Regions from separate parts of the Homo sapiens genome. Here region 1 is linked to region 2. The links are contacts of gene promoters, found by promoter capture Hi-C in blood cells and fetal thymus (Javierre and others, 2016). All regions are on one chromosome and are shown on one strand. The core of a region is centred on a gene start or on the middle of the fragment in contact, and the rest is flanking DNA. Distances in the headings are between cores, read along the strand shown.

Region 1 (7,412 bases), core at 1,060-3,559, 3.1 Mb after region 2:
ATTAGCAAAACACCAGAGTCCCATGAAATCCCTCCCTCATTTAATGAAAAATTCTCCCGCTCTCATTTTTCCACCAGGGCAGAGCAGGGCTCCTGGGAGGGAAAGAAGCCAAGAGAAGCAGTGTAGTATCCCAGTGGCTTGCGAAATGGCAGAGTGGAATGCGGGCTCCCCTGTGAATCCAGCTTGCATGCACTTGCCCCAAATTGCCACCCAGCCAAGAAGCTAATTAGTAAAAGCATCAGGTGGGTGAAAACAGGTTCATGGCCTGTAATAGCTTATATCATCTTTCATTTTTGCCCTTGGAAAGATCTGACAGTCAGCTTGAAGACATTCAGTTCTTGTGACCCAACCTGCTTACATTCTGAGAATTGAATTTGTCAGTTTTTAGATCCCAATCTTCAATATATCTTAAGGGACATTTTGCTGTATAGAACTAAGCAGGCATGATCAATGAGCCTGTGTGTGTAGCTCTATTTTCAGCCTCAGTTAAGGTGGCACATTTAAGGTCAGCCCTGTTTAATACTAGATGACTAAGTGACACCTGTCTTAAATGGTCAATGTATTATAGACAGAGGTTGATTTGCAGACCTGACCATAAAAATCATCCGGTCCTAAAGCAGGGGAGGCAATAGGTCAGAGATGCCCCTGGTTTAACAACAGTGGACACAACAGGCATTCCTTCCGTGACTTCTTAGCCAGAACTCTCAAAATAAGGCAGTTCTGCTGTCCATCTTCTCTTTGAAGATTTTTCCCTAATCCCTCTCCATCTATTCCTGACCTCAACTCTGCTCAACATGGAAAATGAATTCTCTATGATGACACTTATCACAGCAAATTTTCCATAAACTTTTACTGAGCACTTACTGTAGCCAGACATTGTGCTAGGTAAGGCCTAGGGTGGCAATAAATAAATAAATAAATAAATAAATAAATAAATAAATAAATAAAAAGAGAGCCCAGTACTTGAGGAGCTCCCAGTCAGGCAGAGGAGGCCCAATTCAACGGGAAAACAGAGGTATGAGCTAATAGCTCCGGCAACACATAGGGCTCTGCAAAAAACCCTGGGCTACCTGAAAAAGCTCCCAAGAGGAGGAAAATATCAAAAACCTATAAGCTGAGTAGAAGACATGGAGTGTGATGACCAATTTGACATCAAAGATAGGTTGAGATATATCTTTGGGAGTCATTAGCATATGGATGACAGCTAAGGTCATAAGAGAGGGCTGGACCATATTGACTAGGAACAGAACAGAACCCAGGATGAAACTAAACATGGACTTCTGGGGAAAAAAAAAAAAAGATCATTCAAGGGTTAGGTACTTTGCAAATGTGGGAGGGAAAGAAATTCCTTTATTTATCCCGATGGCCTTTCCTCCCATATATCTCCAAGCTAGACCTTGCAATACACAGCTCCAGGGACAGAAATCCCCAGCTGTAGTGTGGAGAGAAAAAAAGAAGTTAACTCTCACCTTTTAAGCTTCTGAGTGCCCTGGTAGCAATCACTATTACGGGTTGAGCCAGAAATGGAAAGGGAAGTTGCTAGACTGTAAGATCTTAGAGGGCATGGGCGGGGTGCGTGATTTTTCATTGTATGCATCCCAATACCTAAAACATTAACTGGTACATAAAATGTGCTTAATAGTTGCATACTGAGTGAATGATAACTTCCCCAAAACTTTGCTAGAGGCCACAGCAGGAGAAGAAAACAAAGAAAGACATGGAATAACAATAATAATAATGTTATTATTACCTTTAGTTTCTCAGCCTTCCTTCTAAGGAGACAAAAGCTCTTTCACTCTGCTATCTTATTTGTCCTTCTTAGCAGCTCTGTGGGGAAATAAAGGCAGATGTGATTAATTCCATTTTAGAACTGGAGAGGGAAGCTCAAGTCCAGAACAGATAGCTAATCATAACTAATTGGACCAGAATTTCACTGTTGCCCATTGGTAGGGCCAGCATTGGAACCCAGGTCTTGCGACTTCCTGCCCTGTGCTTGGTTCTAAGACATAACCCTCCACAGAATTGCCCCTCCAGTTTTTAAGAGGACAGTTCACAAGAGAAATTCATTAGGAAAGCAAACTCCTGAAACACTCTAACAGTATCTTGAGCAAGTGAGTGAGCTGCATCTAAAAGAAAGTAATCTGTTTCCCCACGCCAACACTGGGATGACTAAACCCAGTTCCCAGTGGGGCTCTACTAACATAATTGAGAGCTCCCTGTTTCGCTGTGCCCCTTTTCAAGGGAGCCCCATCTGCCTTCAGTCTGGTTTTTGTGTCTGAGTGGGGCTCAGGTGCTGACTGCAGGTGTGGCATCCAGCAGGTGTATGGACAGGAGCCAGCATTTCATATCTTCATACCAAAGGGCCTGAGTCACTCTCTGAAGGCAGAAGGCAGCCCCTCCTCCTCCTGCTGTTGCCTTGCAAGCACAGGGAACCTGCCTTGCCTGAGGTGCCACTGCAGAACTGAATCTAAACCCTGCCTTCCCAAGAAGGACTAAGGTGAGATTAAACCACAAATCATATAACCCAGCTAACTTTCTTATTTGCACAAACTACTGCAGGCATACACCTACACCGTGGGCACAGCATATGGGAACCTAGGTACAGAATGACCGTCACCTAAAGTGATGCGGGGAAAGGAGGGCCACAACTGGCCCATATTTTACATTTGGCTATAAAGCATTGACTCTACTGCAAATGGCCCTAAAATCTCAGAAGCAAGTACTCACCCCCCTAAAAAAAGGTGGAGTACAGTAAAAAGAACCTGCTAGAAATCTTGCACTCCTGTTCTCACCATAACCTCTTTCCTTCAGGCTTCCAAGGGAGAACCACTTAGCCTGGTCACAGAAAGCACCAGGTCAGAAAATTCATCATGTTCCCCTAACCAAAGCCCAACTGGTCCCAGCCTGAGGCAGACAGAATGTTCCTGGGAGTAAAGGGGGGGGGGGGGTCATCAAAATTTTCTTAGCTTCAAAAACTGTTTGCTTTTTAAAAAAACAATCTGCCTCCCCTACTCTCTCTCTCAGGCACACACACATAGACCAAAGAGAAACTAATTGTAGAAGAAAAAAATGAAATCTTACCTTAATAAAATGGTTTGTTGTCATTTGTTCTATTTCCCTAATTCATACGGGAAATTCAAATAAGCTTTGGTTTATAGCCCATGATCCAGAAAGCAAAACTGGCTACCACACTAAAATGTGATCATTGTATATAAACATAGTAAAACAAAACTCTGAACTGAAAATCTAAATGTAATAAAGAGGAATTAGGTTTCTTCAAAACAGGCAATCTAAATAATTTTCCCCATCTGTGATTTTTATCTTAGTTTGCTATCACATGGAACAAATGTCACTAATTCAATGCAAATACATGCCCCTTGAAAACAACCAAAATGAGTAAGGGATGTACTAATTAGCTTCCTAATGGGGAAGGTTTTAATTGAGCTATTCTTTAACAATCTTCATCAAAGTTTCCAGGGCAACTTCATAAAAGGATGTCAAACCTGGCCCATATTTTTATTCCCTTAAAAATAATTTTCAATACACAGAAACACAGAAAGCTGATTTCTCTTCAATGCTGTTAACACTCAGGCCACTACATTTTCTGATGTCAGCAATCCCCTTCCCACAAATATTCCAAGTATGCACCACCGTCATTCTCCTTTCAATTATGTGGTTTCTCTGCTCCTTTACTGATTGAGTCCAGGCCTCTCGGATAATGAGAAGCATGTGCAGGGAAAATATGCTCTTAAAAAACACATACATCAGTTTTATCTGCATTATAAAGAGGAGAGCAGATCGTTTGTCCATATCAAAAAGATTGAAATGTGAAGTTTGCTATGGGGTATATATAAGGGGAAAAAAAGATCAGTATCAATGCCTAAGGTTGATAGGGGGGCGGCACAGTTATTGTGATCTGATGTGACACCAATAAGAAGAAGGGAGACTCTCCACCAAATCCACCCTTTCTAGCTTGGCCACATTTATATTTCATGTTATCTTAATGTTTCTTTTGGGGGTATTTAAGTTCTGACATACACATGGAAATGAGCCACGAATTGTACAGCAAGCATAAATATTCCATCATTAATAAAATCCAGCTGTGTATAAAACACTACAATGGCTGGGTTTCAGTTACTGGCTATCATCAGTATGTGTCACAAGCAAATATTACTGAAAACTTTCTCCCTTAAAACGTGCATGCGCACACACACAGAAGTTTGCTTTATTCTTTTTCATCTTTTGGAGGAGCTTTGAATAACTCACTGATCTCTATAGCCCTTTTCAACTAACGTTTCTTTTTGAAGCTATTTTTCACCACCCTGTAAGATGCTAGAGTCCTCTTATTTGTACCTCAACTTACCACACAGTACAAAACTGTTTAATTTTTTTTCCAAAAAGCCGAGAGGGCCAATAATACAAATGTTGGGTTAATGGTAATTACAGTCAGTAAGGCAATGGGGCACCAAAGGGCACTGTATGTTATAAGAGAGCAAAGCTCATTAAAAAGGAACACCTGCTCAAGACCCTATAATAAGCCTGCTCTGCCATCATGCAAACACCTTTCATCCAATGACCTCAAAGCATGTGCCCAATATGAAGCATGCCGAAACACCTCTGTGATTATTAATATCCTTGCTTCCCAGAAGGGTAACTGAAGCTTAGAGCAGCTAATTCATTTACCCTTGGTCACATGGTAAGACAGAGAGGGGCTGGGCAGAGAAAACCAGATCCTGGCTTCAAGTCACACAGGCTAATGATATTTCATGGAGTTAGGGCAAGAGTGAAAGTGCCTTTACAAATGTCAAGGCAAGCCCACAGACTTAAAAGAGTAGATTTTCAAGAATTGCCTTAGGAAACATTGGCAAATACACCCATTTGCATTTTCTCCAGGATCATATATTACAAAAAAAAAAAAGTTCCTGTTCCTCATTTGCTACTTTCTAAATACTAAAAACCCATACCACACTTTCTATTCCAGTTAGAGAAATTTAATCTAATTTATGATGAGCCACTGGTTTCCAGGAATGAATCCATCAAATCTTTTTTTTTTTTTTTTGAGACGGAGTTTTGCTCTTGTTGCCCAGGCTGGAGTGCAATGGCGTGATCTTGGCTTACTGCAACCTCCGCCTCCCAGGTTCAAGCAATTTATTCCTCAGTTTCCTGAGTAGCTGGGATTACAGGCATGCGCCACCATACCCAGGTAATTCTGTATTTTTAGTAGAGACAGGGGTTTCACCATGTTGGTCAGGCTGGTCTTGAACTCCTGACCTTAGGTGATCCGCCCGCCTCTGCCTCCCAAATCGCTGGGATTACAGGTGTGAGCTACCATGCCTGGCTAATCCATCAAATCTTAGAGATCACATGTATACCACACCTTTGTTATCAAAGGAAAATTAAAGAACTATGAAATTTGACTACATGGTGAAGACCTCAGATGAAGAACCCATTATGTGTGGGCCATTCTGCTGCTGCACTTCTTGTCTTTTATTTAACTGTCTAAAATCCTTAGTTTCTTTGCTATCTTTTAGTCTAATTTAAACATATTATTTTCCATGCTACAAAACAAGTATATTTGTGCTTTCCTGCTTCTCCTTTCTCATTCTGGAGATTTCATATTCCACTCAAATTTATACTCACTTGATGGGATTTCACCATACAGTGACTTAAAAATCATTGCCAATGATTTACACAAAGTAAACAGTGGACCCTAGTTTTGTTGTTGTTGTTGTTAACAAGAATGGGGGAGGGATAACAGGAGGTCAAAGGAATTAAATTAACAGCCTTGCTAGATACATGAACAACTCCTGAATCACAGAGAGTGTTTAGGGATTACTTATTATATCCATTAGCCTCTCCTGGCATTTGAGAAACAAAATATATGGGAGTCTTCATGTGTCCTCGGTCAGATTCTGACTTAGTTCCTCCACATGGGTTCACAAAGTTAAGTCTTGGGTGGGCTCTTATTGAAAAGCAACATTGTATATATCTGTGGCTCCAATTATCTAAAACTCATGTTAGTACAGGAACCAGGACTTGAAAGGAACTAGAAAAAATGAAAGCAGGTGATCTCTTAGGATGATGGAATTCTTGAAGTTTTGGACAGAGTCTTAGCTTCTTAATTTTGGGTTGTTAAAATGTAAAACATAATGCATCTATATTCATATATCCTTACAGGATCTTTTTTTCTTTAACATGATGACTAGATGATTGAATTTCTAACAACTGTTGCACTTCATTCTAGTAGCAATCATTCACATTCATACTAGATATTGAGGCCTAGAAAGAAAACCATAAACGTATAAGAACTGGCTCTCAAAATTACCCTGTCCAAACCCATAATTTACAGTGGAAAAAAAAAAACTTAACAGAGGTAGTAAACCGAGTTACAGTTGGGCCTAGAGCCCAGGTCCTTCTCACCAATAGGCTCACTAGGAAATCTTATTGCAGATTCTTAGGTTAAAGTGGCATCAGTCGCCATTATTTACTAGAAATAACTTTCTGGATCCCTGGGTTAGTCAAATACAGTAGCTGGAAATAAAACATTTTACCTATATGGGGTGGATAGTCTCATCCTTAGAATTGTTCAAAATCTATAAAGTCTGATTTATTTTCAAAAAGTAATACTAGCTTTCTTCTGCAAGCAGTTGTAGGCCAGAGCTAACGTGGCCAGCATTATTACAAGCCAGAATGATTTAGACAATTAACTAACTCCATTCCATATAACAAAAAGATTTCAAAGGCCAAATAATGGCCTCACTTAATTTAAGCGATAATCATTACAAATTCTTATGTATTCCTTTATGCAATAAATATGCTTCCGAGAAGGCCCAGTTAGAGTGAATTTTTATATATCAAGTCATAGTTTAAAGGCACTAACTAGGAAAGCTAGTACTTACAAAGAAAACCTGTTGTGGATTCTTTTATAAAGCAAATGACCTCCTATTTTCTTTCTTTCTTTTTCTTTTTCTTTTTTTTTGTTCAGATTGTGTGTGTTGTGTGTGGAAGGGGCGACTTCCCTCCTTTCTCTGGGTTAAAAGGGGTCAGAAGCCCACCATGGAGGAGAGTAATGCAGTATGGCCAGCCTGTTTAATACCCCCTTAGTTCCTGGGACAAAATTCTAACCTTTGACTTGGGGGTGGAACCCTAGAATTTGGACCAAAGTCCACAAAAGGCAGCAAGGAGGGAAAAGTAAGTAAGACTAAAGACAACACATCATAGTAAAACACCAACAAAAATTCCTGGGGACAGGAAATCAATGGATCACAATTCTAAACAAATTGGTTTAGTCCCCAGCTAATTAACTTGTCAAGCAGATCACTAAACCTACTGAATCCATGGGAGAAAGAGATGATGTAATAGGAGATTTGGAAACATTTACCCATTTACCATCCTAAAAGGCTCCAGTACGA
Region 2 (7,048 bases), core at 3,053-5,552:
AATCCCAGCACTTTGGGAGGCCGAGGCGGGTGGATCATGAGGTCAGGAGATCGAGACCACCCTGGCTAACACGGTGAAACCCTGTCTCTACTAAAAATACAAAAAAAAAAAAAAATTAGCCAGGTGTGGTGGCGGGTGCCTGTAGTCCCAGATACTTGGGAGGCTGAGGCAGGAGAATGGCGTGAATCTGGGAGGCAGAGCTTGCAGTGAGATTGCACCACTGCACTCCAGCCTGGGCAACAGAGCGAGACTCCGTCTCAAAAAAATAATAAAAAACTCTTAAAACTCACCAGGTTAAAAAAAAAATCCAAATAGAAAATGGACAAAAGACATGAACTGATATTTCACTGAAGATACAGAGAATGGCAAATAAACACATGGAAAAATGATCAACATCATTGGCGATCAGAAAAATGCAAATTAAAACTAGGAGGATATATTACTACACACCTATGAGAATGGCTAAAATAAAAAATAGTAACAGCACCAAATGCTGTCAAGGATGAGGAGCATTCACACATTCCTGGTGGGAATGTAAAATGGTACAGCCACTCTGGAAAATGGTTTGGCAGTTCCTTAGAAAACTAAACATGCAAGTGCTATACCACCCAAGAAGTACACTCTCAGGCATTTCAGAAATTTATGTTCACACAAAATCCTGTGGACAACTGTTCATATGAGCTTTATTCAAAATAGGCAATAAATAAATAAATAAATAAGTAAAACAAACAAAAACCCTGGAAACATCAGATGCCCTTCAAGAGGTGACTGGTTAAACAAACTGCAGTAAATCCATATTATGGAATACTACTCAGCAATGGAAAGGAACAAGCCATTGATAAAAGGTATATTCCTTGCACTAATCTCCAAGGAATTATGCTGAGTGAAGTAAAGTCAGTCTCCAAAGGTTATATACTGTGTGATTCATTTATATAAGCATTTTTGAAATGACAAAATTATAGACATGAAAAACAGATCAGTGGTTGCCAGGAGTCAGGGATGAAGGGAGATGGCTACATCTATAAAAAGACAACAAAAAGGATCCTTGTGGTGATGCAATTGTTCTGTATCTTGACTGTGGTAGTGCTTATATAAATCTACACGTGATAACATTATGTAGAACTAAATACATACATGCAAATGACTGCATTAAAGGTGACGAAATCTGAGTAAGGTTGATGGATTGCATCGATTTCAATTTTGTAGTTGTGATGTTACACTATACTTATGCATGAGGCTATTATTGGGGGAAATTAGATAAAGCGTATTATTTCTTACAACTATATGTGAATCTACAACTATCTCAAAATAAAAAGTTAAAAGGGAAAGAAAGAGTATATAAGACCAGCCAATGGTAGAAGTGGAAAAACAAAGCTTTTATTTTTGCTAAAGGCTCAGCAATTGAAAGGATGGAGAAAAAGGTAATGTCAAAGAGTCTACAGGCTACAATTAATAGAATCATCTCTTCCTCCCCTATGGAAACTTAACTTCTCCAGAATTTTGTTTGTCCTTGATTTGACTGTTGTTGTTTTTAACAAAAATAAACTGGATGTACATCTGTCTCTCCACATGCCCCCCAACCATCTCCATCAGCCCAAAGTATAAACTCATAGAGTAGGGTTTGTCTTAACCATCATGTCCTGAGGGCCTGACATACGTGACAGATGAAGGAAGAAGATAGTTGAATGAATTAATAAATGAATGAGATGCCCACATATTATTTTAAAGTTCCTAGCCAATTACAGTTGTAAGGCAGTATGTGAGTGCGGTGGCGCGATCTCGGCTCACTGCAAGCTCCACCTTCCGGGTTCACGCCATTCTTCTGCCTCAGCCTCCCAAGTAGCTGGGACTACAGTCACCCACCACCACGCCTGGCTAATTTTTTGTATTTTTAGTAGAGACGGGGTTCCACCGTATTAGCCAGGATGGTCTCGATCTCCTGACCTCATGATCCGCCGGCCTCGGCCTCCCAAAGTGCTAGGATTACAGGCGTGAGCCACCACACCCAGCCATTCCCTTATAAATTTCTAAAAGCCATGGACATTTAAAAAATAGTGCGGTATAACACACATTTCACTTGCAAGCAGAAATTAACATAATACCCAACATTTGTAAAATGCTTCTGAGTTTATAGATTTTCACATATAATTATTTATTTAATCAGGATTAAGAACTAAGTATACCTAAATTGAAACCACTATACACAAACCTTTGAGAAAAACATTCTAGTCAACTGGTATAACAGGATTTATAACAGCCTTAACGCAAATTGCATTATATGTGTGTGTGTATACCTATATATACACGTGTGTATATATATATTTGTCATATATATTCATTATAAGAATATATCATTCAAATTGGGGGACTTGTGGATCATTTCAACAACCATAAAGACACTTATTTTACAGATGCAAAAACTAAGAGAGGTGAAGTGACTTGTTCAAGGTTAAATATATATCTAGAGTTGGGTCTAGAACCTGAGCCTCTCCAGAGTTCCAATTCATTTCTCTTGTCTGAATTGAACAAGACTCTTCTTTCTTCACCCATCTCACCCCTACCAAAAATACTGAAAGAAATATCTTAATCTAAATCACTTGTGTTTTTAAATAGGGGGTTTTCCAAAAAAAAAAAAAAACCCACAAAATTGAATTTACTCAAGCTTTCAATTGCTGTATTACACCTTCCATGGATTTTTAGTTGTCAAATTATTTCTTATAGCAGGACAATAAGGTACTTTATTCTAAGGTACAAGTATACTAACAGTTTAATGTTTCATCCCCCACCTAAATGGCAGAGAGTGTTAATTCTAACAGGAGTCTTACATGTCTTACACTTTAGCAGTTTCAATCAAAAGATGAGCTATTTTACAATTTAAGGAAGAGGCCTTACACTGTTAAAATCTTGACCGATATGCTCAATGGCAGTACCATCATTGAATCTCCACCTGCTGCCTTACGTATCAAGAACATTTAAAAGTCTTTCTTGTTAGAGACAAAATAAAAGAAAAACTAAGGTGACAAGCGACTATGAGAAATAAGGCTTTAATCAGGTTAAATTTGCATTATGCAGCCTGCATGAATTTAGAGGTCCTAGAATCAAAACACTAGAAGGAACCTTTGATATGCTCTAGTTCAACAGACTGATTTTTGCAGAAGAGGAAACTGAAGCGCTGATGAGACCATTAACTGATAAAGCAAACCGCTTACTTTTTCAAAGGGATTCATTTCAATGCCATTTTACCCTTATTTTGCATCTCACTGTTGTTTCTCAGAGCGACGATTGACCTTTTTTTAGGTGAAAAGAGCGAATAGAGCGTATTAATTTCAAGAGGGTGAAAAATGCCTTTGAAGGAGGAGATGCTGGAGTGAAGAGGAGAAATGACGTCTTATTTAAAATATGTAACCCCTTGATGGGGTTAGACAATGAATCATATTCTCCTAGATTTTTCTATGTCTATAGACATCAGCCACAGTTCTTTCAGGCACTCAAACGAGAGGAAGAGGAAGTGAATAAAGCTCATACTAAATATATAGCACCCACTGAAGGCAGGGATGTAGACAGAAAGAACGGGGGTGGGGGAAGGAAGGAAAGCACGCTTCGCCAGGATCCAGCTGTTTTCTAACAAACCTAAGCCTACGGAAGCTAGGAAGATATCGGAAGCAAGGAAGATATCGGAAGCGACGGCATCCCTCAAATTCGAGAGGGCGGATGCCTCTAGGGCTAGAGAGGCTCCCTAGCCCTCAGTTACAGAGCGACTGGGAGGGGACAAAATGGAGTTGAGGTTTAGGGGCACCCTAAAGGTCGTTTGGAGGTCTAGCAAGCACTTCATGGTCTCCTCCGGAAAGGGCCGTGGCAAAGCCTAGTACCCCGATCAGGAAGATGACTTCTGGCCCTCGGGATGCGGTGAGCGGCAGGAAGAGGCAGGCTGGGGTTCCGAGGACCCCAGAGTCCATCACAGGAGCAGATACAGTGACCTCGGGAATCTTCCCGGCCCCAGCGGAGGCGAGCGGATAGATAGCCCTGGCTCAAGGAAAAAAGCGAGCCGACTCCAGGAGCTGGAATGCCCACCCAACCTCCTCCCGGCTCAGGTGAGGTACGCCAGTCCCCCTCTGGAAATGGGGCCCTGGTACCGACAGGGCAGGGGTGCCGGGGCCGCAACCTCCCCATCCAGGGATACTCACCGGAGGGGCGGCCCACCGCGTCTTCGCAGCCGGCCGGCGCCTGGCACTCGGAAAGCTCGCAAAAAGGAACCGCGTGCCCGCTAGCGCTGGGACGAGGAGGAGCGCGCGGCGGAGGCCAGAGAAAAAGCCGCAGCGGCGCGCGCGCACCCGGACAGCCGGCGGAGGCGGGACTCAGCGCGAGCCCGGAAAAGACGCGCCCGGAGGGGCGGGCGGAGCGGGGGCGCGCGGTGGTGTGGCAGAGCCAGCCGAATCGCTGGCTGCAGACGGCTCGGCCCACCCACGCGCCCGCCCCCGCTCGCCCGGGACGTCAGTCGAAAAGGCGGAGCCGAACGGGCTTCCCGGGGCGCGGGAGGGGCGCTGCGAGGAAGGCGAGGCGGCTAACGGCTCGCCTCAAGTTGTTGCTCCCGCTGGCGATCCGCTTCTGTCAGTCTCGCTGCTGGTGTCGTTGAGTGTGTTTCGGGATGTCCTTGCGCCTAACAGCAGTGAGGCGCAGAATTGGCCCACGCCCTCACCTGCGGCTTGCTTCGCAGGACTCCACCCCAGGATAAAAGTTCCCCTCGGGTCATCTTCCAGCTGCCCTCAAAAGACACTCATTTTTGGGTTTCACTGCTCCTCTTTAAGAGAGCTATCTTGAACACTTTGACTAAAAGCATCTTGCTCCTGTAAGCCTGAACTAATGCCTCTCATCCGTTTATCTTGCCTCTTACTGCGTTAAGATCCCCGCTCACTCCCACTGATGAAATATCACAAGGACGCAGGATTTTCACGTTGTCTTTCATTTCCACGATGGTATCATGGCAAAAAAACCCCCAACTGATAAGGAAAAGTCACCGCAGCTTTGTGACATCTTACTAGCCCTGATCATTGCTTATAAGCCGGTCATACGAATGCTGTTCCAACAGATGCAAGAAATTGCTATTAAAATTAAAATGCCAGCGAACTATCTGAGGGCTTCAAAAGGGACAGACCATAATTGCAAATGAGGCCTGATAAACTGCCAAGAATATATCACCCAAAAAAATAAATCTCAAGAATTCTTCCAGTTCCCTGATGCGTAATGGTGAACTAGCTTCCTGTTCCTGATGGTAATTGACATTTCACTTCACTTGCTGATTTCCATTTTCCCATAGAATTACCATTTGTGCTTGTGTGTGTGTATATATATATGTATATATAAAATGCCTTACCACCTGAGATTACAAGCTAGAGTAGTTCTTCAGTGTGCATCACAATTATCTGGGGTGCTTGTTGAAATGTAGGTACCTGGAGCTACAACCCCCAGGTATTTTGATTCTGATCTGGGTAGGGATAAGAAATTTGAATTTTTAATAAGCAGCCCAGGTGACACTAAAAGTGGTTAGCTGAGAGCACAGAGCTATAGTTTTTGTGTTACTACTCTAAAGCCATATTACCAATTCAATTTCCAAGAAACCCACCCACTTACATATAATATACCTATAAATATTGCTAAGACAGTCATGTAGCTTCCTTTTTCAAGATTGACCTACAAAGTTCAGTACTTCAAACAACGAGTTTAATTGTCATGTTTATTTTATGAAATCTTGTTTTAATACCAGAAATAAGCAATCATATGTCAGGTACGTAATTCACTGGGTAACTATGATGTACAGAGCACTATCACCTACAGTTGGGTTAACACAAATGAAATTGAAGAAATGAATATCGCTGTTCTCAATAAAGTTAGTGTCTAGTTGTGGAATTAAAATATAGATATAATACAAACCCAGTGTAGCACATAAATCAGTGTGCTGGATGAAGATGAAAAAGAACTTGTAATTAAAGAGTACTTTTGCCAGTTTCCTTTATTGTCGGTCTCTTAGCCCAGACATTTTCAATTAGGTAATTTCCTCTGAACAGAGTCTTCAGCTTACTGAAGTTCCTCCAGCTCTACAAGATATAAAGGAAAGAAATCACTATAGCCTGAAACTATCCGTTTTTTGGTATACAAATGTGTGTATGATATACATATAGATATGTTTATCAGACCAAGAAACTACTTGGATTTTCAAGATCTCTTATTACTTAAGCTATTCATTAGTGTGTACAGTTCTGGCTGTCTTCATCACCTACCACATCTCACCTTCTTCCACATTTAACTGCACCCAAGTTGAAGAGGAAAGAAGAACTATACCTCCAAAAAGGAAACCAAGTATAACCACGCTATTTCCAGCTTTCCTTTTTCGGAGTCAAAACAAACCTTGCTTAATTTCTTGTCATCAGAAACCTTCCAGAAATTACTGCCCAGGAGCAAAATATTTCCCAAGCAGCTGTCTGACATTTTAAAGAGAACATTTGCAACGTTGTTTATTAGTTAGGAAGATAGGGTATTATTATCCCTATTTCACAGATGAAGAAATAGATGCAGGTTAAGTGTCTTGTCCAGTCACACAACTAAGTAGTAACAGAGCCTGAATTTCCTACTACACTGCTTATGACTCCTAGACCAGGGTGCTTGCCGCTACATTAAGCTGCCTCTGTAATGAGTCCTACCCAGAACTACCAACCCAATTAGAAATGGAGTAGATAAACGTATGGAAATGGAAGAGTTAGGAAAATGTACAATGCAATTGACAGATTCAAAATGCAATGTAATAAGTACTAAAAGCATGAGAATTAGTCTGTTAGAAGCTAAACAGAATTTAAAGGACAGCTCTGTTAACAGGCACTGATATTTAGGCCTTGCCTATTTTATTATTCTGTAACAAGAAGCTGAAACAGATAGCCAGGCTGCTCTTGGCATTAGTTATTTATGGAAGGGCAGAAAACAACTGTTCTTCATTGACTGTGTAACAAGCCTTTGCGTGTTAAACTTCACGGGTTTGTAGAATAATAATAATTTTCTC

The links. The method cuts DNA at HindIII sites, captures the fragments that hold promoters and counts their contacts. A CHiCAGO score of 5 or more calls a contact.
Region 1: a fragment that was not itself captured here is called in contact with the fragment with the promoter of ACSL4 in region 2 in 1 of 17 cell types (naive CD8 T cells); the score reaches 5.9 in naive CD8 T cells.

The regions. Positions count from the first base shown.
Region 1 is chrX:112,830,544-112,837,955 of GRCh38, forward strand. It overlaps AMOT (angiomotin), which reads right to left. Exons shown (of 14, transcript NM_001113490.2): 2 at 1,751-1,827. Among named protein-coding and RNA genes, the nearest start is that of AMOT, 6.6 kb to the right of the region's middle. The HindIII fragment of the contact is 1,668 bases long and covers 1,476-3,143 here.
Region 2 is chrX:109,728,955-109,736,002 of GRCh38, forward strand. ACSL4 (acyl-CoA synthetase long chain family member 4) reads right to left here and starts at 4,303. Exons shown (of 16, transcript NM_001318510.2): 1 at 4,185-4,303. It overlaps LOC105373311 (a long non-coding RNA gene), which reads left to right and starts at 3,557. Exons shown (of 1, transcript NR_158569.1): 1 at 3,557-6,004. RefSeq lists enhancers at 3,666-3,715, 3,776-3,915 and silencers at 4,038-4,158, 4,256-4,565. The HindIII fragment of the contact is 5,191 bases long and covers 2,661-7,048 here.